Regions from separate parts of the Homo sapiens genome. Here all the other regions are linked to region 1. Evidence: promoter capture Hi-C in 16 types of primary human blood cells and fetal thymus (Javierre and others, 2016). All regions are on one chromosome and are shown on one strand. Each heading gives the region's core, a stretch centred on a gene start or on the middle of the fragment in contact. The rest is flanking DNA. Distances are from core to core; before and after follow the strand shown. Region 1 holds the start of KIAA0408. Region 2 overlaps LOC105377989 (a long non-coding RNA gene). Region 3 overlaps RNF146 (ring finger protein 146). Region 4 overlaps ECHDC1 (ethylmalonyl-CoA decarboxylase 1).

Region 1 (6,901 bases), core at 1,468-3,967:
ATAAGATTTTCAGTCATTCTGACACCTGCTTGAAAACCTCAGGCAGTTCAAGATGTCTGAATGTAACTGTAGGGCTGAGTATACCAGCATCAGTCTTTTAAATGCATTCATTTTATGTATATAATTGTGGTAAATTTTCTTTTAAAAGTTTTCTTAAAAAACAAAAAGTTTTCAAGGGAAAATATCAAAAGCTGTGCTGAACATTTCTTGACTTTGCACCGTATCACCTAATTGACTTACTTTCTGTCTTTTGGGTATGAAATATGGCCTGGAAATTATATATTTTATATAAATAACATATAATATAAATTATATATATATAAACTTCAACAGAAAAAGTTGGTAAATACTAGAATAAGTGGTAAACTTGGAGTAAACTTTTTGTCAAAGATTTTCATTATTATTTGATTCTGTGTACAATTTAAGATCAGCTTTACCATGACAAGAAGCAGATGAAGCACTTGAATCTGATATACATTGAAATAAATTAGTATGTCATCAGGTATGAATGACATAATTCTTTCTAAAACATAGGGCAATTATTTGTGATTGCCCTGGGACAATCACACTGGGACAGCCATTAAAAGAGATTGAAATGGGTACTACTGAGTGACACTTAGGAAGTATAGTCCAACCTAACATCTCTTGTAACTTAGACACATACTATCTGAATTTTCGATAGGATTTACAAAATAGTCTTAGTTTGATTTACAAGTGATACATAGAAGTTAAGAAGTTTGGAGTAGAAGAAAAGGTAAAGGAAACAATGTTTTTTGTTTTGTTTCTCTGAGACAGAGTCTTGCTCTGTCAACCAGGCTGGAGTGCAGGAATGCCATCTCTGCTTACTACAACCTCTGCCTCCCGGGTTCAAGCAATTCTCCTGCCTCAGCCTCCCTAGTAGCTGGGATTACAGGCCTGAGCCACCACAGCCGGCTAATTTTTTTATTTTTAGTAGACACAGGGTTTCACCATGTTGGCCAGGCTTGTCTCGAACTCCTGACCCCATGTGATCCACCTGCCTCCGCCTCCAGAAGTGCTGGGATTACAGGTGTGAGCAACCACACCCGGCCAGAAACAATGTTAAGACAATTCTGTATTGATGTTTTTGTGCAACTCCCTCCTCCCTTTCCCTCTCTCAAAGAATCTTCTTCCTAGCCTCATAAGCATGGAGGCAGACATGAGCTACCCTTTATTGTGTGCTTGGCGCTATATATATTCCCTCATATTCTTATGGCCTCTTAAAGTAAATATAATTATGTCTTTAAGGAAGAATCAGGGTCTGCAAGATCACACAGATAAGTGGTGGCAGCAGAATTGAAACTTAGATCTCTATGACAAAATTCCATGGTTTGCAATCAGACAAAACAGTTCAAACCCGTTTCCTCCACATGGGTGCATTTCTATGAACTTTTGCATGATGCTTTACCACAATGAGCCTTGCTTGGGTTTTATCAGTAAGATCAGATTATCAGTATCTAGAGACAGAATTGCTCTGAGGGTGAACTCAGATAAAGGTCTGTTCAAAGTACTTAGCACAGAACCTTGCAGAGGGTTGCCCCTCAGTGAATAATCACTATTATTACTATAACTATCACTGTTATTGTTGTTATTGCTGTTGAGATTATGATGTCAGGCTTTCCAGACACAGAGTATGGTTTCATTTGATTGTCCTACATGTATTAAAGTCCTACTGTGAGCAGGTTACTATTACTAAACTTTAGCTCCTCATGAAATGTTTATCTGGAAGCAGGTGAAAATAATGTGAGTGAATATGTATTACTTTAAAGACCACACCAGGGAAGCTCTTCAGACTTGAAGATAAGACCTTATTGTTTAAACTTGTGTATTTGCTAAGTTAGGCAAAAAATTGCTCTAGAGACTTTTTTGACTAAATTAAACCAAATATCATCAGATGCATGTGTGTACAAAGCCACAATAAACCTGAAAATGTCGCTGGGGAGGCAAGATCTCCTAGCATTTCAGAACAGGCTGATTTGATCATGATTTAGAGAGCTTTTCCATACACTTAGGCTGCTTTCTCTTCCTATGGCTGCAGCACACTTTAGTGGAAAATAAGCCCATAGGTATCTCATTTTTGGGGTGTGTGTGTGTGTGTGTTTTGTCCTCCCACAATAAGAAATCTCATCCTTTCCCATGGGCTCTGATTTTCTCTAACGTAAAGACATCGCTACTACTGTAGATAAAAGCAACACACTGTCAGAATCACAGAGAGCTAAGAGGTTGGACTTTATGTTCCATTTCTATTTTATTTGAAGATAGAAGTTTGATAACTTTCACAGATCTTTTGAGAGTGCATAATATATATAATTATGCTACACATATTGTTCTGCCACATCCAGATGCAAACTTCTAAAGGTGCAGCAGAGTACATCCTGCCACCAGCTGAGAAGGAGAAAGAATTATGGAAGGAGGGAGATAATTCTTGCCTATAAAAAAATGAGTTTACTTTCCTAATAAAATAAATCTAAAATTGGCCATTGTCATTGTATGATGTTAACAACCAGCTCTTTTGGCAAGTTTGAAAATACTGGGCTCCATTATAAAAGCTAAAAATGTCCTGGACCTGGAGTTGTTTACCCAGAGCATGAGCTGCTCTAAAGTTACAGAGCTCTGGTTGGAAGAGGTGGCTTGAAGGCCGCCTCCAAGTAACTGACGTCACAGTAGTCTCAGCTGCTGCTGTGACACTAAGCTGAGCAGCTTTTTGACTTGTAAAAGTGGTGAAGGTTTCAAAGGGACTTGTCAGTACTGCTCTGTGGAATGGTTGGACTTATTTTGCATCCCCTTTTCTTGTAAAGAATCGAGATTCACCGAGCTGAGACTTTTCTCTTTAAGACAGCTAGCCATCCACTTTCTTCCACTGCTAATTGACCAGTGGTCGAGCATCCATAGGATTTCTCCCCAGTGTGAAAGGTATGTTTCTTTCCGGCAAGTTTACAAGCAAGTGACTAATTATGGCAGGATACAAAGGGGCTGCTGTTGAGATGTTTTAAACTATGGATACTGTTTAAGTGGAGTGTAATTTCAACATCTGTCTCTGCTGTTGTCTGTGTCTGGGCTTAAAAACAGTGGGCGGGGTGCATAACAGATTGTACTGACTCCTAGGAAAAAGGCTGTTCAGCTGCTCAGGGTGGATTTCCCAACTGTGGACTGACAGTACCATCCGCTCTTTGAGACTGTTTTTCCAACACTGCTTCTCAGTTGTTTGAAAAGCACTTTGCCCATCATTGATTTTCACTAAGTATATTTATTCAAATGTGATTTTTTTTATTCATATAAAGACTTTTAACATTTGCAAATTAAAGGTCACAATCCTGGAGACTTGGTATTTGAAAATTGCGGTGAAAAATAAATTTTAGTTTTATCTAAGGTGGTGGTGGACTCACTGTAGAGTTAGTGTTTCTGTAATTTGAGCTGAAGTCTATGCCATTCATAATTGAATAATCTACGTTTAGGAGGGAAACTTACCACTATGTCTTTTGTTCACGATGGTTAGTTTTAGACATTTGTTTACTCAAACCAAATGTTTGCTTTTAAAGTTTGCATTTTATAAGTAAAATCAGTGTGCATACAGCTTGGATGTTTTCTAATTTGAGTAAATAACTGTAAAGAAAACAAGGAAGAAGATAATTAAATGAAACGGTAAAGTTGATTCATTCGGAATTGCATGTGGTAGTGTCTCTTTGACCTTGTTGGAGCATGAGGAATGTGCTAAATCAGCAATACACAGCAATGAAAAAAATTTCCCTTTTACTCTAACAAAATCAAATCATGGTGGTCTTTGGAAAGATTCAATTGCAAGTGAACAATAGAGAGGAATGAGATTTATTAATTCATTGAAATAATTCAAGTGATTATAATAGCCTGGAGAAAGGGATAGAGAATTTAGGAGGTAAATGGTACATTACTCTGATAGGTTATAAGCTGGGGAATTCCTAATCCATCAAAGTTAAGCAGAAGCAAAACATCTTCAGGCCAAATGAGTCTTCTAGGAATTGTGAGATTAGCAGTACCTACTGTGTGTGGCATTTCTATTGGAATATGTAACCTCTTATAAATGAAAAATCTTTAATTATGTGAAAAGTGATATGTTTAGCAAAAGGAAATAAGGACAGCAAGAAACAAGTACTCTAAACAATAATCTAAAAAGAGAGAAGTAGCAATGGAGCAGCTGCCCCTAAGGAACGCTGTTTAGTTTGTTTGGATGCAGTCCAGTTTTCAATGGGCGAGTTGGAGGTTGAAAGGGTAGTGACCCAGGTGTCCTAAGAATGGAGCACCCCTCAGAGAAAGAATTGCTGCCATGACCAAACTGAGGCTAATTTGGGGGTGAAAATAATTTCTTGTGAGACTTGTGTGTTACTCTTAAACTTTGCTTACTGGTAGGGCCGGAAGGCTAGCAGAACTATTTGCCTCCCATCACCATACTTATGCAACCCACTCACAACTCTTTATAATTCTGGCTTTCAGCCCTGGAAAGGGGAAGTAAGTTAAAAGGGATTATGCAATGCTGGTTTAGAGTTGGGGTGTGTGACTAAGTAATGCAGCTCACTCTGTCCTCTTACATTTGCTCTAATAAATTTTTATTCTGAAATGGAATTCTAGAAGGAAGAACATAAACTGGAGAGCCAAAGAGATATGGGGTAGGGGATGCAGATAGCAGAAATCCTTCCTTCTCTCCCACATAGATGCCAGTATCTGTGGGAGAAAATGAGTGACAACTAGGAACAAAAAGAACTTTTATTTTTGCCCCAGTAGAGAGCACTTAAATTGAGTTTTTGAATCTGCTGAACCACTTTACCCCATAACTTCTCATTACGAAACATTCTATCTCTACAAAGTTGCCCCTTCAGTTTGATATTTTTTGTAATATTTAAGTCAGATTTATAACAAAAGCAGTTTTACATAAGATTTGTTCACATTTTTATTAACAATAAAACTTTTTTCTTTAAATATGTGACATGTATCTTTAAAATATTTGAAAAAAGGCAAAAGAAGATCATGGAGAATATGAGAGTTCACACAATTACACTTGCTTCTATCTCGTTTTAAAATAAAGACCAAAATAATCTGTTTTTTTTCCAGAGAACAACATGGAGAGGGATAGATGGAGAAAGAGAGGAGAAAGGGAAGGAGGGAGGAAAGACAAGAAGAGGAAGGGAGGGAACAAAGGACAGAAGGAAGAAAACAAGAACCAAGTATTTTTCAGGCATTTGCTATGATCCAGAGCAGTGTTTAGGCACTTCTTTTAAGCATTTTTCCCTTTTGCTCACTTAATCTCCAAAACAATTCTATGCCCCCCCCCCACCACTTTATATTTAGAGGTGGAAGCAATATGTTTGGCTGCGTTACATCTAACATTATATTTACGACAAGACTGAGATGCTAAGAAGGCCAAATCCTTCCACAAAAAATTGGCACAGATATTGCTCTATAGAAATGTTCTTGCAAAGGCTTGTTTCTGATCCATAACTATTACATTTCTTGGCACTAGCAATTGCTCTGGGCCTGGAAAGGAAAAGCTCCATACATTGGTCCTTCTCCATATTAAGGGATGAGTTTGGCTCTTTGCAAATAGGTGCAGGATTCGGTCTGCTTCAGGACTGTTACCTGGGTTTAGATATAGTCTTGTTATCAAGAGCAAGACTGATCTAGGGTATTCCTGAATGATCTTCCGGTAGGTTAAAAAGAGAAAGGCCTGGCATCTTTCAACAGTAGCATGGAAGCGATTCAAGAAGAGTTAGGAATAGAAGGAAAAATTGGAGCCATTTGCTACATAATTGTAGAAAAGACTTTATGGTGATTTCTGAACATTTCCAATGTTTAAAGACAGTTGGGATAAAACATGGATTTATCATAGCTCCTCTTTTCCAGGTAGCTTGAAATTAGTCTGCATCCTTTTTTAGTTTCTTTGGTTAAATCTGCATTTATCTCTTATTATCTCAAACCACACCATTCTTCCTAAGAAGTTCCAGTGGCAAATACTTTCTAGTCAGCAAGGTAGTTTCACCACACAGTTAATTACGTATAGTTTTAAAGCAGTCTGCTAGTTTCAAGACAGGCACTGTCTGCATTTCCTATGAAGAATTGTTAGACGAACCTAAAAGATTACTAGGTATTCAAGATCAAGATCAATGGAAATTAGATTAGCCAAAACAAACAAAAACCAAAACTCTGTATGTTCTTTACCATCTTTATTTTATTTGTTCTTCACTGACATTTATTATGGCAAGTACTTGTGGTTACTGGTTTATATGTGGGAAAGATAGCAAAGAAAGGGGTGACAGAGGAGGTGGAGAAATGAGGTCAGAAATTGAGCATGGCCAAATGGATAAAATGAGATATGATAGCACCTTTAATAGCCAGATATGAAATTATGTATTTTTCGTGACTGAATTAATCATAATAGTGCTAGTGCCAAAGACATAGGAAAAAATTATCAAAATATCTTTAGTAAATAGTTTGAGAGTAAAGTAACAATATAGATCCCAAAATTATTAGGGTGTTTTGAAGGTAGAACCCTGCATATATAGCTAACATTTTTCATTTCTTATTCTATTCTAATTCATTGATCGTGACTCAAAAAATACAGATTCAAAACTGTTTACTAGTCAGATATGTATGTTCACAACAGTCTGACAAAAATAAAATTAGTGTTCGATATTTAGCTGATATTTAGGATTTGAAATATGCAGTTATCTTCTGTGAATACAAAATTGGCACTTGCTGCTTGGGTATGTGGCCTTAATTCGGCAGTGCCAGCACCCACAAAGCTATTGACTGTTGGGATCTTTGTCCGTAATTAGCATTAGCTGCCACCAGTAAGTTATAGCATTTTGATAATGGCTTAGTGACTGAAGAGTTAGACATCTTATAGGCATAATTA
Region 2 (6,901 bases), core at 2,478-4,977, 250 kb after region 1:
AACTTTAAGAGAAGTTAAGGTTTAGAAACAGTAACATGAAGTCCCGTTCTTTTTTTTTTTGACGCGGAGTCTGGCCGTGTGGCCAGGCTGGAGTGCAGTGTCACGATCTCGGCTCACTGCAATCTCTGCCTCCCGGGTTCAAGCGATTCCCCTGCCTCAGCGTCCCAAGTAGCTGGGACTACAGGCGCGCATCACTACGCCCGGCTAATTTTTGTTTGTGTTTTAGTAGAGATGGGGTTTTCCAGTGTTGGCCAGGATGGTCTCAATCTCCTGACCTAGTGATCCGCCCACCTCGGCCTCCCAAAGTTCTGGGATTACAGGCGTGAGCCACCGCGCCCAGCCAAAGTCCCATTCTTCTGGCTCCTTCCTTCATGTACATCCTTCTCATTCTTGGTCATCCCCTACTCCCCAAATTCTATGCTTTTCCTATTTATTTTGTGCTGCTTCCAGTCTGATCTAGCCACTTCTCACATCCATCTCTCTATCCATACCTAGACTCCAACATACAGCTCTTCTAAATTGAGCTGTCCATTTCTTTCATTTAGTGGATATTTGAATAATTCCCTTAAAAACGGGGGTGGCCTTGAAAAATCCCACCTCATGTGCTAGAATTCCCTGGAGTTACACTTCCTGATAGAGCTCATGGGTGAATTTGAACATGCTGTGGTTTGAGGACATGAATGAATGGCCACTTTTCAAGGCTCCAGCTCAGTGGTATGGATATTTTATTATGGTGCCTTTGAAGAAATTCTAGCCCAAGAATGCAGACACTCAGAATAGCTTTTTCCCAGGACCTGACTTTGGGGGTTGGGGGCGGGAGTAGCAGCAGCTTCTGGGAATGGCGGGCTGTCCACAGCACCATTGCTTCCTTAGCTCCTTTAGGCACCGTTATCAGCTTCTTAGCTCCTAGTAAGCTTGTGGTCCAATAAAACCTCTGAGGGTTGACTTTTTCCGTGCCAACTGCCATTCATTTCCTTGTATTGTGTGTTTTGTTGTATTTTAACGTAAGCCTATTTTTTCTTTTCTTACTGATTTTATCATTTTGGCCCAGCCTATCATCACACCTGCTATTTTACAGTTTCGACTTTCTCCTCCAAAGTATCAGTTATTTCTGTCAGCACTGTCCTATTTTTTTTTTTTTTTCAAATTCAAGTAGGCATGCTTTCTTTAGCTTCGTCTAAGCTATTGAGATGGGGCTAACAGGGCAAGATGAAGGACAAAGAGATTGACATAGATAATTTTATCAATACTTCTTACATAGGGTTGTTCAATCAGATATGGAGCCATCTAATTGTAGCTGCTTCTCTAAATCTTATACATAAATATATTCAGGGAAGTTCTGTCAAATCTGTTATTTAATTCAATACACATTCTGTAAAACTTCCCTAATCTATTACTTTAAAAACTCTAAAAAGCAAACAAACTAAACCACAACAGAAAAATGGGATTAGTAAGGCAGAGAGCATGATACCTGAGAGGGGTTGTGATCCCATGTGTCCTGTAGTTTTCTCTGATGGTAAAGGCCGGTATTCTAGCTTCTTATCAATAGTTTAACATTATTTTTAGAATTTTATCAGATACCAACACACAACTTTGGTGCAGTCTTCAAAATCCACAATTGTTTCTCAGGGCAAGCCCTGTTATTTAGGCAAAAAGGAAATATGTTTTGAAAATAAATTTTTTTAAATGAGCAGTTTTGGAGGGGTGCTGAAACATAATTGATTTTTTTCAGAAGTATTTACAATACATGTAAGATAATTGCTTTATTTTCTGGCCTTATATAATAAATTTTATGATTTAGAATCTAACTTGAAAGCAAGCATTTCTCTTTTATTGGCTTAGGAGAAGTTGTGAAGATGTGTGATTTTTTTACAGATCATCTGAGTTTCTATAGGACAGAAAACTAGAATTCTATATTTAGTATTGGATCCATACTGTAACCATTACATTAGGTTTCTATTTTTAAGGATTAAATAGTAAGTTAATGGAAACAATATAGCCCTATTTTTGCTTAATATGCTAAGCACAAGATGCTTTATATGAGCAACTGAATACATTAATAAAAAAATCTCATTTTTAATTGAATAGCTGAAATGATGCCAATATGTGAAAGAATTATAAACTGTTACAAAAATAACTGGTTGCATTAAACAGGATTGCATATAGTAGACTGCTGCTGCATGTGTTTGAAAAAGGAAATGCAAATATGGAAATAAATATATGTATTTAATTAAATAAAATATAATTAACAGGTTTAAATTTTTTAAGGGAAATTTTGCTACTAGGCAGTGACGTCAACCTGAGCTATTTTTTTTTCTTGTCAGTGATTTATATTCATGATTCAAATATTGGCTGACAATTTGATCAAGGGGGAGATAAGGCATCCTTAAATTGATATTAATAATATTATCAGACTTGATATTTTACAGCATTTTACATTTTAAAAAGATTCTGACATCTATTTTTATTTTATTTGTAATTTATTTAAAAAATAATGTACAAAAAGTAGAAAGTAATATAGTATACACGAGTTTGGGGCACAGAGTTGAATAGCCAATATTGCCTAAAAGTTGAGAAATTTGACTTAGGTGTTAAGGAGGGCAGCAACCAAGATTGATTTTACATGAAAAAAAAAATCAGTTAAGATGAAGTAGCATTACCAAATGCATTTATATAGAAAAGGATACAGAGAAATAAAGGTGAAGGCAAAAATATCTTACTGAAAATTATGAAGTGATATGGGAAGTCAAGAGAGAAAGTTGGGAAGATGTATTGGGGAAAACAAGTTTGAATGGAAATTCTGTTAAAATTGACATTTATCCCTCACGCTTAATATTTATAGTGGAATTTTAGTTTTATCACAGGTGTGGATAGTTCTACTCTTTGTTAAATTAGAACATTTACTCTTTTTTCTCCTTTGCCTCAGTAGGTTAATGGCTGTAGTCTAATTTCTTCATAAAGCAGACCCAAATAAAACATATGTTGACTCTCTGTAGGCTGTACCTTGAGTTTCCTTCTTACCCACAGATAGAAGCCTTCTCTATTGAGTTGTCTACATTCTGCATCTTCAATTCCCTACCTCTCATTCTTTCTTGGCTCACTGAGACCTGGATTCTGTCCTCAGAACTTTGTTAAAATAAGTTCTAAAAGAACACCATATTGGCAAGTCCTGGGGACACCTGCCAGTCTTCAGATTGATTGATTTTGTTGCAATATTTGATATAATCGTGCCCCATAATGTTTCTATAATGTTGCTTTCTTTATTCTTGACCTGTTTACCTCTGAGTCCATCTTTCTCAGTTCCCTTCATAACTCCCTGTTTCTCTACTCACTCTTTAAATATTGCTAATTGTATTCAATCTTTTTTCTTCTCTTTCACTGAATTCTCCTTAGGCTCACTCACATATGCCCTGTGATTTATTTATTAGATAATTACTTCTAAATCAATATCTCTACCTTTCATACAGTTTAGCCCAGGGACAGACCTATAATATTCCAGACTCCTAGGAGATTATCTCAATTGAATATCTGTCACACACCTCAATCTCAACAAAGCAAATAAACAATCCCACTCTCAGCTGTGGGTGATTCTCTGATTAATGACACTGCTTACCGAGTGAGACATGGGACTCACTTTGCTCCCCTGCTTCTTGCTATTGGTTACATGTTTCATGGCTTCTACCTTCAAATGATCTCTGGTGTCTATTCCCTCCTCTCCTTCATCTTTTTCTGCATTAATTCAGGTTCTTTTTATTTTGAAGTTGACTATACAATTTTATACTCCTATACTTAAAACTGTTACTCATCCGAGTGTTCTTCATTCTTAAAAATCCATCTTTTCATTGTCACCAAAGGCAACTTTTAAGACAAATAGAATTATTTCATTGCTCCTCATAAAAACCTTAACAGACTCATCACTGTTTTCAAGATAAAGTATAGACTCTTTCCCATAACATATAAGGCCATTTATCATCTGTTTCCTGTTCACACTTCCCAAATCTCTTGCCAGAGAACACAGAAACTACTTGTAATTCCCCAAACTGCATATTCTCATTTATGCCAGGCTTTTCTCATGGCCTGTGATACCCAACCCGACATTCATTTCCTATTTTGTTTCACTGCCAAAGAAGTACTCATGATTGAGGAATTAGCTCACGTTACTAAACACTCATCCTCTCCTGCTCCTGCATCCAAGCCTGAGTTAGGGGCTCATTCCTCTTGACCTCCGCACCAGGAGGCACAGACTTAGGTAAAATACCCTCATAGCATTTGGGTATCTTATGTGTTTCTCCTAGTAGGAAGATTCAAAGACAAGAATTTTATTTTGTGGATTTGTATTATCTGTATCAAGCATGTTGCCTGGTGAACAGTAGATATACTGTAAATACCTATTGATTAAATTAAATATTATAGAAAGATTGATTATTGAAGGAAATATATGTGTATGTATGTGTGTTTACATGATTGTATTTATATATATTTATATATAACAGAAATATCGATATTTCTGTTTCAGAGTGACTTGGAAATTCTATTTTAAGCAAAGCACATACATTTTAATTAGTAGCAATTTACTGGGAACCCAGTACATACTTGGCATGCCACATAGTTTCCTTTAATCTTCACAACTCTATACAGTCTGTAAAAATATTATATTTATTTTATATATGAATATATGGAGAATCAAATAAATTACTTTTCCAAGAGTGCACGGTCAATAATAAAGAGATTTAAATGCAAGTCTTTCTATCTGCAAAGCCTAAAATAGACAGAACTTTTAAAATTTTTATTTGTTGAATTATTGTTTGTTGAAAGAGAGGAAATGACTAATAATGGAAGCCAAAGATGATTCTTTTAAATTTATTACAACTTGTGGCTTGGGTAAATTTGATCTTACTTTCAGCCTTTGCAATATCTGATGAAAGAGGGTCTGGAATTTAGAATATCCTTTATGTAGCCTGCCTGCAACTGGCATTTTGGCTAATCAAAATAAGAAAAAAAGGAATGTTTAGTAAAATGCCTGTTATTTTCAAAAGGAAAATTTTTTAAAAGGAAAACTGAATTCCTCATTTTGCTGGTATAGTTTAGGCCATGTGAGAAACACAATAAATATGTGCCATCAGGAGCAGCCTGTGAGCAGATGAAACTATCTCAGACATAGCTCAGCAGTTTTCCTCTGCCAGACATTACTTCCTATGGAAAGAGAGACAAGTATACTTTTAAAAAACACTTATATGAGATTAAATATCCTTACATATTTATTTGACTAAATGGAAGGCATTTACTGTTCCCCTGATAGTTAACAAGTTTATTTCATTTTATAAAAATAAAGATTTATACATTGGGAACAAGAAATAATTTAGGGTATATACATTTCAAATAATTTATTTTGTCATTATTAGTAGTAGTTATTGTAAATTAGGTATAATGGTTTTTAGGAGGTATTATAATTTACTCATAAGTTACATATATTTCTTTTCTTTTTTTTTTTTTTGAGACAGAGTTTTGCTCTTGTCTCCCAGGCTGGAGTGCAATGGCATAATCTCGACTCACTTCAACCTCCACCTCCTGGGTTCAAGTGATTCTCCTGCCTCAGCCTCCCAATTAGCTGGGCCTACAGGTGCCTGCCACCATGCTCAGCTAATTTTTTGTATTTTTAGTAGAGTTGGGGTTTCACCGTGTTGGCCAGGCTGGTCTGGAACTCCTGTACTCGGGTGATCGATCCACCCACCTCGGCCTCCCAAAGTGCTGGGATTACAGGCGTGAGCCATGGCGCCTGGCTGTAAGTTACATATATTTCTAATGAGTTTTTTTTTTTTCTTGGCATTGGAATACAATGCTTTCTATGTCACCTACAAAAAATCTTACCAGAGCATTACACAAAATAAGAGAAGTAATTCCTAGGGCAATTATCTACATAATAATATTATAGTAAAATTTACTAGGAGCAACTCAAGCATTTGATGTAATTATTTTGTACAGGTAGAGAGCTGGACCAGTTGCTGTTTGCCGATGATAAATGTTAATTGAATGGGATAACTACACATAAGTCGGATGCTGATAGGAAGTGCATGAAACATGGTCTCTGCCATTGCAATGAGAAACAATGGTTGAATGTCATAATCATTATAATATACTCTTACAATGGAAGTATTGTGTTTTTCTGGTACATTATATTGGAGAAATTGGTTTCCCAAGACAGAAAGAAGATTTTTATGTAACAGGACAGTAATAATTAGACCTAAATATAAACCATTTTCATATCTAAATTAACTGCTTGGTGACTGAGTGCTAGTTTCAAACAGTAGAAAACAAGGGAATTAAAATATAACTAAGAAGATAAGCCCAACTTGCAAAAAGCCATTATGGACAGACAGTATTCCATTCTTTGGATTTTAAAGTAAAATCAGTAAGTCTTTGATTTGTTTTTGGTTAATAATGGAAAGCATTTTCCAAACTAAAAGAAAATGAAATTAATACTTTATTAATGGTGCTAAGAAAAGCTAGCACTCCCTCTCACCCCACTCCTAGCAAAGCTTTGCCTCCAGATGTTATTTTGTATTTATTTTGCAATGTTTATTATGGCAGTCCAAGATGTTTATGTCTTAAAGATACATTGGTCAGTTTATTTACAGAGAGACAGCTTCTTGAAGTGAAGGCAGTTTACTTTGGGTGTGGGTTAAGCTACATAGCACTAGAGAGAATGGGTGTGACTGGTTTCCTCTTGTGTGTTCTCTTATTATTTCTTTCGTTTCTTTTCATTACAAGCGCTTCTCTCTCTCTTTTTTTAATCCTGTAAGGTTTTATATGATTTGTCCTGTGAGAAATAGTTGAGTTTTTCTGAGCAGTTACCCTGTACAGGAAATGAAAGAAACACAAGGCAGAATGGATGACAGGGCCT
Region 3 (6,901 bases), core at 1,489-3,988, 180 kb after region 1:
CTTTCCCTATTCCCCAGAGACTATCATAAAACTTCTCCCTCCTAGTTTATCGATATACTAACACCTGTATCACTGAGAAATTAGGTAAGTCAAAAATAAATCCTGAAAATCTATCTTTACCTTTACTGTCTTATCATTATTCCTCCTGGCTCAATATGGGGTACTGCTACTTGTTTACAAAGCTAACCCCTCAACATCTAGTAAGTACTGTCCCCTAACTCCTCCAAGACTGATCAATATACTCTGTCCCTAAGTATCAAAATCAATTAAGATTGATTGTATGTTAAATAAATGTAAAATCTGGTAATATAGTAAGTACTAAATAAATGTTCACTCCCTGCACTTATTTTGAAGTCTCTTTCTCCTACCCTGCCTTCCCACATATTACTGTTCCCTGACTCCTCTAAAATGTGTTGATGATTAGGCAGCTGTTTCCCTCCTCATTCCCTTGGCTTGAAAAATATTTCCTAATTTTCTTTGACTGTTAAAATTCTACTCATTCTTTGAAGGCAAGGTGAAACTTATTCTGTTCATTCTGAACCCTTCAGATGAAATTAATCTCTTCCTCTGTTCAGTTTCAATAGCATCTGATTGTTACCTTAATATGGCATCTATTCCACTGTTTGTTAATTACATACATGTCTCATTTACTGGATCACAGTAAGTTCCTTGATGACCAGCACCTAGACTATCTGACCTATTAAGATTTTAAAAAATGTATACAGATAGATAAATGGACAGGATTAAATAAAATATATATTTTTAAAGACAAATGCTTATTAGTATCATTTTTCAATTATCAAATTTTCAATACTGAATAAAAATAATATGGTCATACTTTTAATAATAAATTAATTATTGTTAATACATATCATTACATGTAACCAGTATCATACTGGAAGAGTAGAAAGCAAGAGTTTTATGTCAAACTGGGAAAATGTGAAATAGCATCTACCAAGGTCACTCTTGCTCTAATAAGAAAAACACTGTAATTAAAAGTCAATAAAATATTCACTACATTTTTCATGAATGACATCAAGTTGCATAGGGCTTATATGAATTTAGAAAACAGAAATATATTCATAGTGAAAAATGTTTCATCAATACGGTGAAGTTAAATATGGACAAATCCAAGGTAGTGTGTAACACTTTAAAGCATATCATGCAAAGATAAATGATGAAAGCACAACTAGTAAAACTGGGGATCAGAGTGAAGTGATATGAATAAAATGCAGTGATGTATTATTACATTAAAAAAATCAATTATGTAGAAATTCCTTTAATTTAGTGAAACAAGTTTTTAGTAACTAGAGTTTTTATAACCTAGTAGTCTGTCTTATTTACAAAAGCTAGTACTACTTGCCTAGCTTAGTTATTTAAGAAAATTATTATGTAAAAAGAAGGTAGAACCCAGAGGACCTGGAGATCTATTTCAGCATTCTTTGAGCAAACTCCTGTGTCTTCAGTTTTTCTTATAGAGACTTTTCCTTTTGAGGAGACTTGGAAATCTACATTAACGATAACTTAATGTAAATAAATTGTTAATAAAGCACCTATAAGTCAAAAGAAAATGCTCATTTAATATAATTAAAACTACATATGACAGATACTCAATTTACCACACGTTAAACCAATCCATTTAATTTACTGCAGCACTGAAAAAAACCATGATGCTACACTTACATTTCTATTACAGATCCCACAGATGCCTGCCACAAAAATAAAGCATTTTCTTCACCAGCAGTCAGCCAGCTTACAGTATTTTCTCTTCCACTGCTGGTTCATTCTTTGTGCTGCAAAAGAAAAAAAGAGTAATTAAGATCAAGAGAATCAGTTAATTATGTATAATCCTTTCAAAAAATTCAGTGGAAAACTTTATCTTAAAAGTGGGAAAAATTAAAGACAAGATGCATGCTTTTACCACTGCTATTCAACATGACTGTAAGTTCTAGCAGAGCAAATTAGGGAAAAGAGATAAAGGCATACAGACGGGTAAGGAGGAAGTAAAACTATGTCTATTCTCTCTAGATAGAAGATCTCATAGAATCCCCAAGAAAGCTAATAAACAAATTCAGCAAAGTTGCAGGTTACAAGTTTGACACACAAAAAAATCAGTTGTGTTCTGATACACCAGGAGACAACAATCCAAAAAAGAAATCAAGAAAACAGTTCATTCATAAAGTAACTAAGGGAATAAAATAGCCAGGAATCAACTTAACCCAGGAGGTGAAGGACTTGTACACAGAAAACTATAAAGCATTACTGAAAGAAATTAAAGAAGAGCTAAGTAAATAGACAAGTGATGTATGGATTGGAAGACTTAACATATTAAAATGACAATACTACCCAAAGTGATCTACAGATTCAACATAATTCCTATCACAATTCCAACAACCTTTTTTGCAGAAATGGAAAAGCAATCCTCAAATTCATATGGAATTGCAAAGGACCCTAAGTAACCCAAACAATCTTGAAAAATCCAATGTCAAAACTTACTACAAAGCTAAGGTAACAAGACAGTTTGGTGCTGGCATAGGACAGATAAATACACCAATGATATAGAATTGAGAGTCCAGAAATAAACTCATACATCAATAGCCAACTGATTTTCCAAAAGGGTGTCAAGTCTACTCAATGGGGGAAAACAGGCACCTCTAACTAATGTTGTTGGGACAACTGGATTTCCACATGCAAAATAATTAAGCTGGACCTCTACCGTATACTATATATAAAAGTTAACTCAGAATGAATCAATAACCTAAATATAAGAAATAAAACCATAAAACTCTTAATAGAAAACACAGGAGCAAATCTTCATGGCCTTAGATTTGCAATGGATTCCTAGATATGACATCAAAAGCATGAGAAACATAGGAAATAAATTGGGCTTTATATAAGTTTAAAATTTTTGTGCATCAAAAGACACTGTTAAGAAAATAAAAAGACAAACTGCAGAATGGGAGAGTATCTTGGCAAATCATGTATCTGATAAAGGTTTAATATCCAGAATATGTAAAGAACTGCAGCTCAACAACAAAGACAAACCAATTAAAAAGTGAGCAAAAAATGAGTAAAGAACTTAAAGAAGATACACAAATGGCCAATAAACACACAAAAAGATCCTTAACATTATTAGTAATTAGGGAAATGTAAATCAAAATCACAATGATACATCTATAAGGAGGCTACAACTTTTTTAAAGGGAAAAATAATAAGTGTTGGTGAGGATGTAGAAAAATAGGACCTTTGAAAACTGCTGGTAGGAAGGTAAAAGGGTGTAGCTGCTGTGAATAATAATTTGTTGCTTCCTCAAAAAGCTAACACAGCAATGCCACTCCCAGGGATATAGCAATAGAATTGAAGAGGTTCTCAGACACTTGTATGCCAATATTCACTGCGGAAATATTAGGCAAAAGGTGGACACAATTCAAGTATCTACCAACAGATGAATGGATAAACAAAATGTGGTCTATAAATACAACAGTACATTATTCAGTAATAAAAAGAAATATGTGCTACAATATAGATGAACCTTGAAAACATACTAATAAGCCACATACAGAAAAGTATGATTCCACTTACATGAAATATCAAGAATAGGCAAATTCATAGAAGCAGAAGGTATCAGAAGTTACCAGAGAGTGAAGGAAGGAAAGTGGAGAGTTATTGCCTAATGGGTACAGAGTTTCTGTTTGTAATGCTAAAAAAAAGTTGTGGAAAATCTATAATGGTGATAGTTGCATAACATTGTAAATGAAATTAACTACATGGAATTGTACTCTTAAAAACCTGTACCATCTCAGTCATTAATCTTCTTTCTTCTCATTTAGTATTTCCATCTCCACCTCACCATGTCCACTACAGGACGCACATCATATTACACAGAATAATCAAGAACACATGATAACTAAAGAAATGATAGATCTCACAGTAAACACAAGATAGAGGAGACTTCAATCTTCTTTTATTTCCATGTGGCTCTCATACTATGGGCATCTATCTCCCTACGGTATCTTAAGATTCTAGTGTTTAAAGAAACATATTCTTAATGCCATTATGTGGCCCCTAAATACAAGCTGACTTATCCTACCAAATGTTTAACAGAACAAACAATTTGTTTTAAAATCAGAGAACTTTCAAAAGTAACTGACTGTGATGGTTAATACCGAGTGTCAACTTGATTGGAGTGAAGGATACAAAGTATTGATCCTGGGTGTGTCTGTGAGGGTGTTGCCAAGAGATTAACATTTGAGTCAGTGGGCTGGGCAAGGCAGACTCACCCTTAATCTGGTGGGCACAATCTAATCAGCTGCCAGTGAATATAAAGCGGGCAGAAAAATGTGAAAAAGAAAGATGGGCCTAGCCTCCCAGCCTACATCTTTCTCCTGTACTGGATGCTTCCTGCCCTCGAACATCAGACTCCAAGTTCTTCAGTTTTGGGACTCGGACTAGCTCTCCTTGCTCCTTGCAGACAGCCTGTTGTGGGACTTTGTGATCGTGTAAGCTAATACTTAATAAACTCATATATATATTCTATTAGTTCTGTCCCCCTAGAGAACACTGCCTAATATACTGACTAAACAAGGTTTCTAAGTAACCTTTTTGTTTTACTCTGACTTTAGATGAAATGGACTCCACTATTTTGACTTTCCTCTCAACCCTTTCACCAACTTCAAGGAGCCTACAACTTCAATGGCATCAAAGAAGGCTATGTTCATTTCCTTGCTGCAGCCTACGCCAAACAGAAAACTGCACATTTTCATACACTCCCTATATATAGGACAGGAGGAGACAATTTACTGCTCCAACATCATTACTTTTTCTTTCAAGTCTCTATCACACTGACTTTAACATACCCCATAATCCCCTAAAACTGCTCTCTCACCACCTGTAAGGGATTAATGTCATCTTTTCACTACTGATCATCCTCTTCATCCTAACTCCTGACATGACTATCAGCCTATTTAAATAGCCTTGAAAATGAACCATCCAACACCTATTGCACAGGTTCTTAAACTTGTCCCAACTTCTATTCATCAGAATCACTGAAATTGCTTGTTAGAAATACATATTCTCAGCCCCTTTCCTTAGAAATTCTAGGCCAGTAGACATAGGTTTAAACCTAGGAATCTCACCCCAGGTGGTACTCATGCTTTAGTCCTTCAAATACAATCTGAGAAACACCATCCTCAATTTTCAGTTCCTTAAATCCTAAATTTGAAGAAATTAATCTACTCTCCAGCAACCAAATATTATAATCACATTTAAAGCTAGTTGTCACCTAAACTGCTGCCTCTCTGAAATCTTAATCCGACTCTCAGATCACAAGCTCTGGTTCTTCCAGCCTACTCATTCCCACACCTGCTCTTCAATTTCATGGGGACCTACCATCTCTTGACCATCTCCTTTCCTTTATCCAGTTCCTGATCTCATTTCCTTTCCTGCCCATTCTGGAACCCAATCTTTTTTACTTCTTAACAGAACCCTTGGCCCCCTCATATCTTTATCTCATATACACACATTTTACAAACCCCCATTTCTGCATAATTCTTACAATATGACATCTCAGGTTTCATGTCTTAACTACTTTGTGTTCATGGAGAAAAAGAGAAAGTCCTTTCTCTCACCACACAGCCCCCTGCTCCCCCACCCCAACCAACCACACCATAAATTCTGTCAACTTTTATTCCTAATCCCTTTGGAATCTATCCTGTACTCTCTACCCATTGCTAGTGCCCTAGTTTAAACCTACATAACTCTCACCTGGACTATTGTTCAGCCTGATTATCTTGTGTCAGTATCACCCTCATTTATTAAGCCTTTGAGTGAGATTCTCTCTCTCTCACTCTCTCACACACACACACATACACTCACTCTACAGTCTGTTTCCCAGGCTAGAATGCTGTGGCATGATCATAGCTCACTAAAACCTCAAACTGCTTGGCTCAAGCGATCCTCCCATCTCAGCCTCCCAAGTAGCTAGGACTGACTGATATATTTAAAAGGCAAAATGGACCAGGTTTCTTCCATATGTGAAGCACAATATTGGGTCCTCAGCCTACACAATAAAGACAAAGCTCCTTAGGACAACATTAAAAGGTTTTAAAGATCTAAACTGTAAATAATTAGTCTCTAGTCTTTTTTATCTTCAACAACCACCCATAGATTAATAATCTAGTTGTATAAAATTACTCATAGTCCTGCAAACCTCCCTTTGTAGCTCTGTATTTCCTCCTGCCTGGTACGATCTATTCCCTTTTACAGCTTATGAATGCCTATTTGTTCTTTAATATATTACACAGAAATGGTTATCTCTACCATTTTCTCTGACTACCTCCAGAAAGTTAACTGTTCTCTCCTCTATGTTTTGTATGTTTTTCTATTACGGAATTTATCACATGCACTAATTTCAATTCATTTGTGAAGTCTGACTCTTCTGTGAAATCATGAATCCCCTGAAGATAGGGAGATTTTTATATCTTTAAATAGCTAGTAAATTGTCAATCAATTTTTGTTGAACTGATATTTTTTGGATGAATGAAAAATCAACTCCTAAAAGTAACTATTGTGAGGAACAGAATATCAAAGGATTAGATTTATTCAAATAACACAACACTTGAGTTCTAATTGTGAACTCAAGCTGGAATCTGTAAGATACATAAAAATATCTAAGTTCTAATCCTTGCTTTATATAACTTAAAATCTAAAGGAGTTCCTACATTTACAAATATAAAATTCAACCCATCTTTGTATCTTTTGGCAAGCAAATCATTTACCCAGCTATTGTTCATTGTCAATGAATTCTCCAAAATGGAGATAAAAATCTAAGCATAAACCAAGATGGGTTTCTGAACAGCCAAAACAGCTTCACAAAGCTCTTTCCCCAATAAAGCTTATGATT
Region 4 (6,901 bases), core at 1,833-4,332, 140 kb after region 1:
CCAGGCCCCTCCTTCATCCTTCAACACTGGGAATTACAATTTGACATGAGATTTGGTTGGGGGACACAGAGTCAAACCATATCAACCCACATTGTTACTTTACTATTAATGAAACTCTACTGTATGATTTCATTTATATATGGAATCTAAAATAGTGAAACCTATTTTAGCATGGTGGCTCACACCTATAATATGAGTGCTTTGGTAGGCTGAGATGGGAGGATTGCTTGAGGCCAGGAGTTCAACACTAGCCTGGACAACATAGCCAGTCCTTGTCTCTACCAAAAAATTAAAAAAATTAGCCGGGTGTGCTGGCACATGCCTGTAGTCCCAGCTACTTGGGAGGCTGAGGCGGGAAGGTTGCTTGAGTCCAGGAGCTTAAGGCTTCATTGAGCCATGTTGGTGTCACTGCACTCCAGCCTGGGTGACAGAGTGAGACCCTGTCTCAAAAAAATAGTGAAACTCAGAGAAGCCAGGACTGGAATGGTGATTATCAGGGGCTTGGTGGTGGGGATGGGCAGGGATTGGTCTTGAGTGTTCTTGTTACACATACACACAAAGTTAATAATAATAATAATAAAAGGGGTGGGAGGAAACTTTGGGAGGTAGTGTATATGTCAGGGCCTTGAGAGTGGTGATGGTTTAATGGGTGTATACTTATCTACAAACTCATCAAGTTGTATACATTGAATATGTACAGCTTTTTACCTGTTAGTCATAATTCAACAAAGTGTTAAAAAGAAAAAAGAAACTCCACACTTCATTCATATTTCAGTACTTTTTCTACTGGTATCCCTTTTCTGCTTCAAGATCAAATCCGGGACACCACAGTACCTTTAGCTGTCATTGTTTCAGATTCCTCTTACCTATGATAGTTTCTCAGACTTACCTTGTTTTTCATGACCTTGGCAGTTTTGAAGAGTGCTGGTTAGATATTCTGTAGAATATCCTTCAAATGGAATTTGTCTGGTGTTTTTCTCATATTAGGCTGGGGTTATGGGATTCTGAGAGAAAGACCAGAGGTAAGCTTCTATTTTCATCACATCACATCAAGGGAATATGCTGTCAAGGTGACTTATCACTAATGATGTTAACCTTGGTCACCTGGCGAAGATAGTGTTTGCCTGGTTACTCTATTTTAAATTTACTTTCCGTACTCCACTCCTTGGAAGCAAGTTACTAAGTTTAGTCTACACTCAAGGGGGAAGGGAAAATAAATTCCATCTCCTGGAAGGGGGACATATAAGTCCATTATTCTTATGTAAGGGGGATTTGGGTCTTCTTCCCCATTTACTCACATACTTATTTATTCAGTTATTTATATCAATATGCACTCATGGATATTTATTTTATATGCATTATTCATTTTGTTGCTCAAATTGTTCCAGCTTTGGCCATTGGAAGCCCAAAGACCAAAGACCCAAAGTCCTGTCTTCTTTTGTCACTCCCCTATCCTTTTGTTTTTTGAGTACTCCCTTACTTTCTAGTATTATTAGATACTCCAAGTTAATCTTGTATTTTCCCTGCTCCAATTATATAATCGGTGATTTCTTCAAGGAGTCCTGGTTATGGAAAATGGTAGAGGATGGTGATAGAAACTAAGATCTAGGTGTTAGGTGTTTCTGTTTTTCAAGTACATTGATATAGCACATTCCTGGGTTAGTCGAGCCTACCTGTGACTAAAATAGGATAAAGAAAAGCTCTTAATGCAGAGTGAGAAGTCTTGGGTTTAGACATAGGCCTGCCACTCAACTAAATGAGAAAGTTGCTCAATTTCCTCTTAGCCTCAGCTCCATGGGATATATAAAATCTATCTCACAGGCGTTTTTGAGGATTGAGTTAGCTAATGTATTCTAAAGTGCTTTGTAAACTAGAGGGAGCTACTGTAACATTTTAAATAGGTAATATAAATTAGTAATATTAAGATGATAGATCAAATTCAATATCATCACTTTTCCTTTAGCAGTCATATGAAGTCAGTACTTTTGTTATTGTTTATTTGTTTTGCTTTTTAAAGATTAGGGTGCAGTAGTGGGAAGGGCTGAAGAAAATGAAGGACAGGAAGATTAGCAATGAACAAAAGTGGTCATCATTAAAAATCAGCAAGAATTTGAATTCCTTTAAGTGGAAGCTCTTTAGCATCTCATGATAAGTTTTACATGAGCTATGTATATAAATCACCTAGTTCTGGCACATAGTAAAGTTCAAGAAGTAGTAACAAATTTAAAAATATGCTTTTGAATTACCCTGACAGAGTAGAAATACTATCATCTTCCTTTATCAATCCTCCAAGGAACTTGTTTTCATGAATTCAGTGCTCCTTCCCCCTCTACCACATCTTCTAGGAAAAACAAAGAAAAGAAAAGAAAGGAAGGAAATGAAATTAGAAAGGGAAAAAAGTAAAGTTTTCATGATATTCCATAAGTCTCATGCCACTGTATGTAGTATATGATTATTATTTGCACATGTGAGGAAGAATCTTTTGGTTAATCAGAACACTGGCTTTGATAAACTTGGATTTGAAAGCTGGTTTCAATACTTTCTGGCTAAGTGATTGGGCAAGTCACTTAATCTTTCTAAATCTTATTTTCCTAGTCTATAAATGAGGAGTATAGTGGATATTTCGCTGAGCTATTGTGAGGATTCAAGATAATATATATAAAGTGCCTACTAGCACCGTATCTGAAAAAGGTAGCTATTATTTTTATTTCAAAGATCTTGAGATTAGTAAACATTATCATTAATGAGATGATGCATAATTTGTAGCACCCCACTAGACTTAAATTTGTGATGTATCTGAACGGTTATAGCACTAAGCTGGAAATTTGAAAAGACGGATTTTTCCCTCCAAGATCTAATAATTAGCTATGTCACCTGCAAGTCATTTGATTATACGGGTTGAGTATCCCTTATCCAAAATGCTTGGAACTAGAAGTATTTCAGATTTTACATTTTTTCAGATTTTGGAATATTTACATATATATATATAATGAGATATCCTGGGAATGGAACCCAACTCTAAACAAAAAATTCACTTATATTTCATATACACCTTAAACACACAGCCTGGAGGTAATTTTATACAGTATTTTCATTAATTTTGTACGCAAAACAAAGTTTGTGTACATGAGATCAGGTGTGGAATTTTCCACTTACAGTATCATGTCAGCACTCAAAAAGTTTTAGATTTTGGAGCGTTTAGATTTCATATTTTCATAGCTCAACCTATATATATGTATTTTTCATCTCTCAAATGGTTGTATCACTGTTCACCTTAGTTCATGAAAGACACTGTTAAAGACAGAATGATATAATAGACTGTTGTGGGTTTGATATAAGCTGGTTAGGAAAACATCTCTAAAAAGTGAGTGGTTATTTTACTTTCTAATTTTCTTTTAGTTAGAAGGTTGTTTCTGTCTCTTTAGATCATGTGACCACGATTCTTTTTCTATATATTTAGAGATGGAAGTGGAAACATGCTTATTGTTTTATATATACATCATTGTATATATATATATACACACATATATATATAGTATATATACATCATTGGTCTGGCATAAGTCATGCAGGAAAACATGGAGAGAGTTTTTATTCCAGCTTCAAATAAGGAATCACTTAGTAAAGTTCATTCTTTCTAGTACCTACATTCTCCAAGTAATCTGCTCTTTTCAGTGCCTGAAGTAAATCTTGGTTAACAGCTGAGGAGTAGTATTACTGCAAGTGTTCGTCACTTGTTGCTGTATACATCTGTCAGTCTTATCAAGGAAATGTGGAATGGTGAATCTGCTTTACAATGAGTATGCCTAGAACTCAGAATCTTATTTTATTTAAAACATTGATCTCGTTTTATTTTATTGAGACAGAGTCTTGCTCTGTCACCCAGGCTGGAGTGCAGTGGCAGCGATCTCGACTCACTGCAACCTCCGCCTCCTGGGTTCAAGTGATTCTCCTGCTTCAGCCTCCTAAGTAGCTGGGATTACAGGCGTGGGCCACCATGCCCAGCTAATTTTTGTATTTTTAGTAGAGACAGGGTTTCACCATGTTGGTCAGGCTGGTCTCAAACTCCTGACCTCAAATGATCTGCCCTCCTCGGCTTCCCAAAGTGCCAGGATTACAGGCATGAACCACCAGGCCTAGCTACTTTTTTGTTTGTTTATTTTGAGATGGAGTCTGGTTCTGTTGCCCAGGCTGGAGTACAGTGGTGTGATCTTGGCTCACTGTGACCTCCACCTCCTGGGTTCAAGCAATTTTCCTGCCTCAGCCTCCCAAGTAGCTGGGATTACAGACACCCGCCACCACACCTGGCTAGTTTTTGTATTTTTAGTAGAGATGGGGTTTCACTGTTTTGGCCAGGCTGGTCTCGAACTCCTGACCTCAGGTGATCTACCTGCCTCAGCCTCCCAAAGTGCTAGGATTACAGGCGTGAGCCACTGCACCTGGCCCGACGTCCAGCTATTTGAAAAAGCATTTTATAGGGTAGATGAATTCTTTATTATCCTTTAATGAAATCTCTGAAGTCATAGTATAAGAAATATATAGCATAAAAGTAAGCACTTTGAATATGGATAATTTTAAGAATTGTAACAATACATATAAAGTATGGAATGTGTTTATCACATTATGATTTTAAAATTAACAAGAACTAGAAATAGTTTATGTAAAGTTCCCGATATTTCCATGTTTCCTATAAACTATATTCCTATATACTTGAGAAGGAACTATAAATCTGTGTAAAGCTGAAACTTAAAATGGCCTCAGGACTTTTGAGGCTTATACATGTATTATATATGAGTTACAGCTGCAACATATAAATGCATCTACCCCTCATGGCTGAAACATTCTGAAACTTATCATGGCTTTAAGTTATAAACAGTTTGTCTGTTAGTGAGGCTCTTCTTTATCCAAATACTTACTCTTTGTTGTTACAGATGCATCACTAGCATCTACTTACTTGCTGAATTTGCTTTCTGAGGATGATGAGATAACTGAAATATATGACAATTTTAGCAATTAGATTATATTCCCTTCTAATAGTGATAAAATGCTTGGAAGTGATTAAGTGGCTTTTTTATCATAAAAATATAATTATTTTGATGTTTTTACTACTGTATTTTTTCAGTTTTAAAAAGCTTTTTATTAATGTAAACTACAAAATACAGGTAAAAGCAGAGACTAATACAGTGAAACCCTCATGTACCCATAAGAGCATCAACCCTATCAATATTTTATTATATTTCTTATCTATTATTCCACTTTTTTTTTCTTTTAAGTGTAACTGATCCCATAAGAAGTTGATCGCGTCTTGGTATGCTTTGGTTATTGTGCAGGAAAAGAGCTCCAACTGTCCCTATTAGGCAGTTAATTCTTGGTTCAGATGGTAGAGGCCAGGAGATCCACTAGGATAACACAAACATTAACCCTGCTGAAAAGTTATGTATTGGAAAGACAAAGGAATAAAATAGAAAAAAATATATTTAAATATTAAGACTTGGATTTGATGCCACAGATGTCCTGTAGGCTATAAGAAGTTTCTTTTCAGAGGGAATAAGTAATCAAAGTGCAGTTATAAGCTTCAGAATATGGAGAAATAAAAACCTGCTTAGTCTTCAATGGATCAGTATAATGCCTCAAGGAAAAGTCTGGCATTTAGAAACCTTTCTGTTCTTAATCTACCTTGAAGACTATATCCTCCTTTGTCCCTTAACTTTCCTTGTTACTTTTCTCCCAATCTATTGTTCCTTCGATCTCTGTTGCTTATGTTTCTATGGTGACCTCAAAGTTCTTGTCTGACTTCCTTGTGTTTGCTACTACTATTGTACCATACCCTGATTAATTTACAGACAAGCGGCCAAGCACGGTAGCTCACACCTGTAATCCCAGCACTTTGGGAGGCCGAGGTGGGCAGATCACCTGAGGTCAGGAGTTCGAGACCAACCTGGCCAACATGGTGAAACCCGTTTCTACTAAAAATACAAAAATTACTTGGCCATGGTGGCAGGTGCCAGTAATCCCAGCTACTCAGAAGGCTGAGGCAGGAGAATCACTTGAACCCAGGAGGTGGAGGTTGCAGTGAGCCAAGATCACGCCACTGCACTTCAGCCTGGGAGACAGAGCAATACTCTAGCAAAAAAAAAACTATTTTAATTTTCTCTAAGCTCTTCCATGTATTTTGAGGAAATTAATAAATCCATACAACAAGCACTTAAGAAAGGGCTTATTTTTGTTTCTAAATAAGATACTTCTACAGGCTGGGCATTTTTCCACTCTAAACATGGCTTAGAGTACATATGATGTTAATCATTCCTTTTGGCATTTTGGTTGAGCATTGTTCTTCTTATCCTTGTTTTATGAGAAGGAGCTAGAGGAGTAGGGTTGGATCTCAGGTATCATCCAGATAGCATGAAAATATCACTGTCTGCAGCAACTTTGAAAACCTTGTTTTAGTACTTCTCAGCTTCCAGCTTTTATACATTAGAGCAGGTCTAGCTTTTTACTGGTTCCTCACCCACAGCTTACTCTATCACAGATATCTCTTACTGGCTTATTTGCTTTCTTCAACCCAGTGAGAGGACAGAGCATTTAACCATTGTGGGCTTAATAACTTTGGAGGACAAATTTAATGAAATCTTTCTCATCTCTAGGGCATGTTGGCCATTACTGCTTAAACTTCTGTTTTATGATACACTTAAAACCAAAACATACTCATTATCTATTGCCAGTATTGTTAGTAATATTAATAATAATGATAGATAACTTTTATTCTCTTACTGTATGTCAGACACTGTTCTAACCTTATTTTGTGCCATAACTTAATCATTACTAGCTCCCTTAATAAAATATATACTACTGTTAGCACAATTTGCAGATAAGAGACTGTAGGACAGAGAGGTTAAGCAGC

Evidence for each region. The method cuts DNA at HindIII sites, captures the fragments that hold promoters and counts their contacts. A CHiCAGO score of 5 or more calls a contact.
Region 2: a fragment that was not itself captured here is called in contact with the fragment with the promoter of KIAA0408 in region 1 in 1 of 17 cell types (monocytes); the score reaches 5.3 in monocytes.
Region 3: a contact is called between a fragment that was not itself captured here and the fragment with the promoter of KIAA0408 in region 1, in 1 of 17 cell types (monocytes). The highest score is 6.3, in monocytes.
Region 4: a fragment that was not itself captured here is called in contact with the fragment with the promoter of KIAA0408 in region 1 in 3 of 17 cell types (monocytes, M0 macrophages and M1 macrophages); the score reaches 6.9 in monocytes.

Annotation. Positions count from the first base shown.
Region 1 is chr6:127,455,205-127,462,105 of GRCh38, reverse strand. It overlaps KIAA0408, which reads left to right and starts at 2,717. Exons shown (of 6, transcript NM_014702.5): 1 at 2,717-2,931. All of the region lies in intron 7 of SOGA3-KIAA0408 (SOGA3-KIAA0408 readthrough), which reads left to right. The HindIII fragment of the contact is 12,466 bases long and covers 1-6,901 here.
Region 2 is chr6:127,204,961-127,211,861 of GRCh38, reverse strand. The region is part of intron 1 of LOC105377989 (a long non-coding RNA gene); the gene reads left to right. Among named protein-coding and RNA genes, the nearest start is that of RNF146, 58 kb to the left of the region's middle. The HindIII fragment of the contact is 5,622 bases long and covers 917-6,538 here.
Region 3 is chr6:127,275,123-127,282,023 of GRCh38, reverse strand. RNF146 (ring finger protein 146) reads right to left here. Exons shown (of 3, transcript NM_001242850.2): 2 at 1,684-1,793. The coding sequence starts at 1,685. Among named protein-coding and RNA genes, the nearest start is that of RNF146, 12 kb to the right of the region's middle. The HindIII fragment of the contact is 8,313 bases long and covers 1-6,894 here.
Region 4 is chr6:127,319,265-127,326,165 of GRCh38, reverse strand. The region is part of intron 3 of ECHDC1 (ethylmalonyl-CoA decarboxylase 1); the gene reads left to right. It overlaps LOC105377994 (a long non-coding RNA gene), which reads right to left. Exons shown (of 4, transcript XR_001744334.2): 1 at 2,247-6,901; 2 at 890-1,004. Among named protein-coding and RNA genes, the nearest start is that of ECHDC1, 21 kb to the left of the region's middle. The HindIII fragment of the contact is 4,105 bases long and covers 1,030-5,134 here.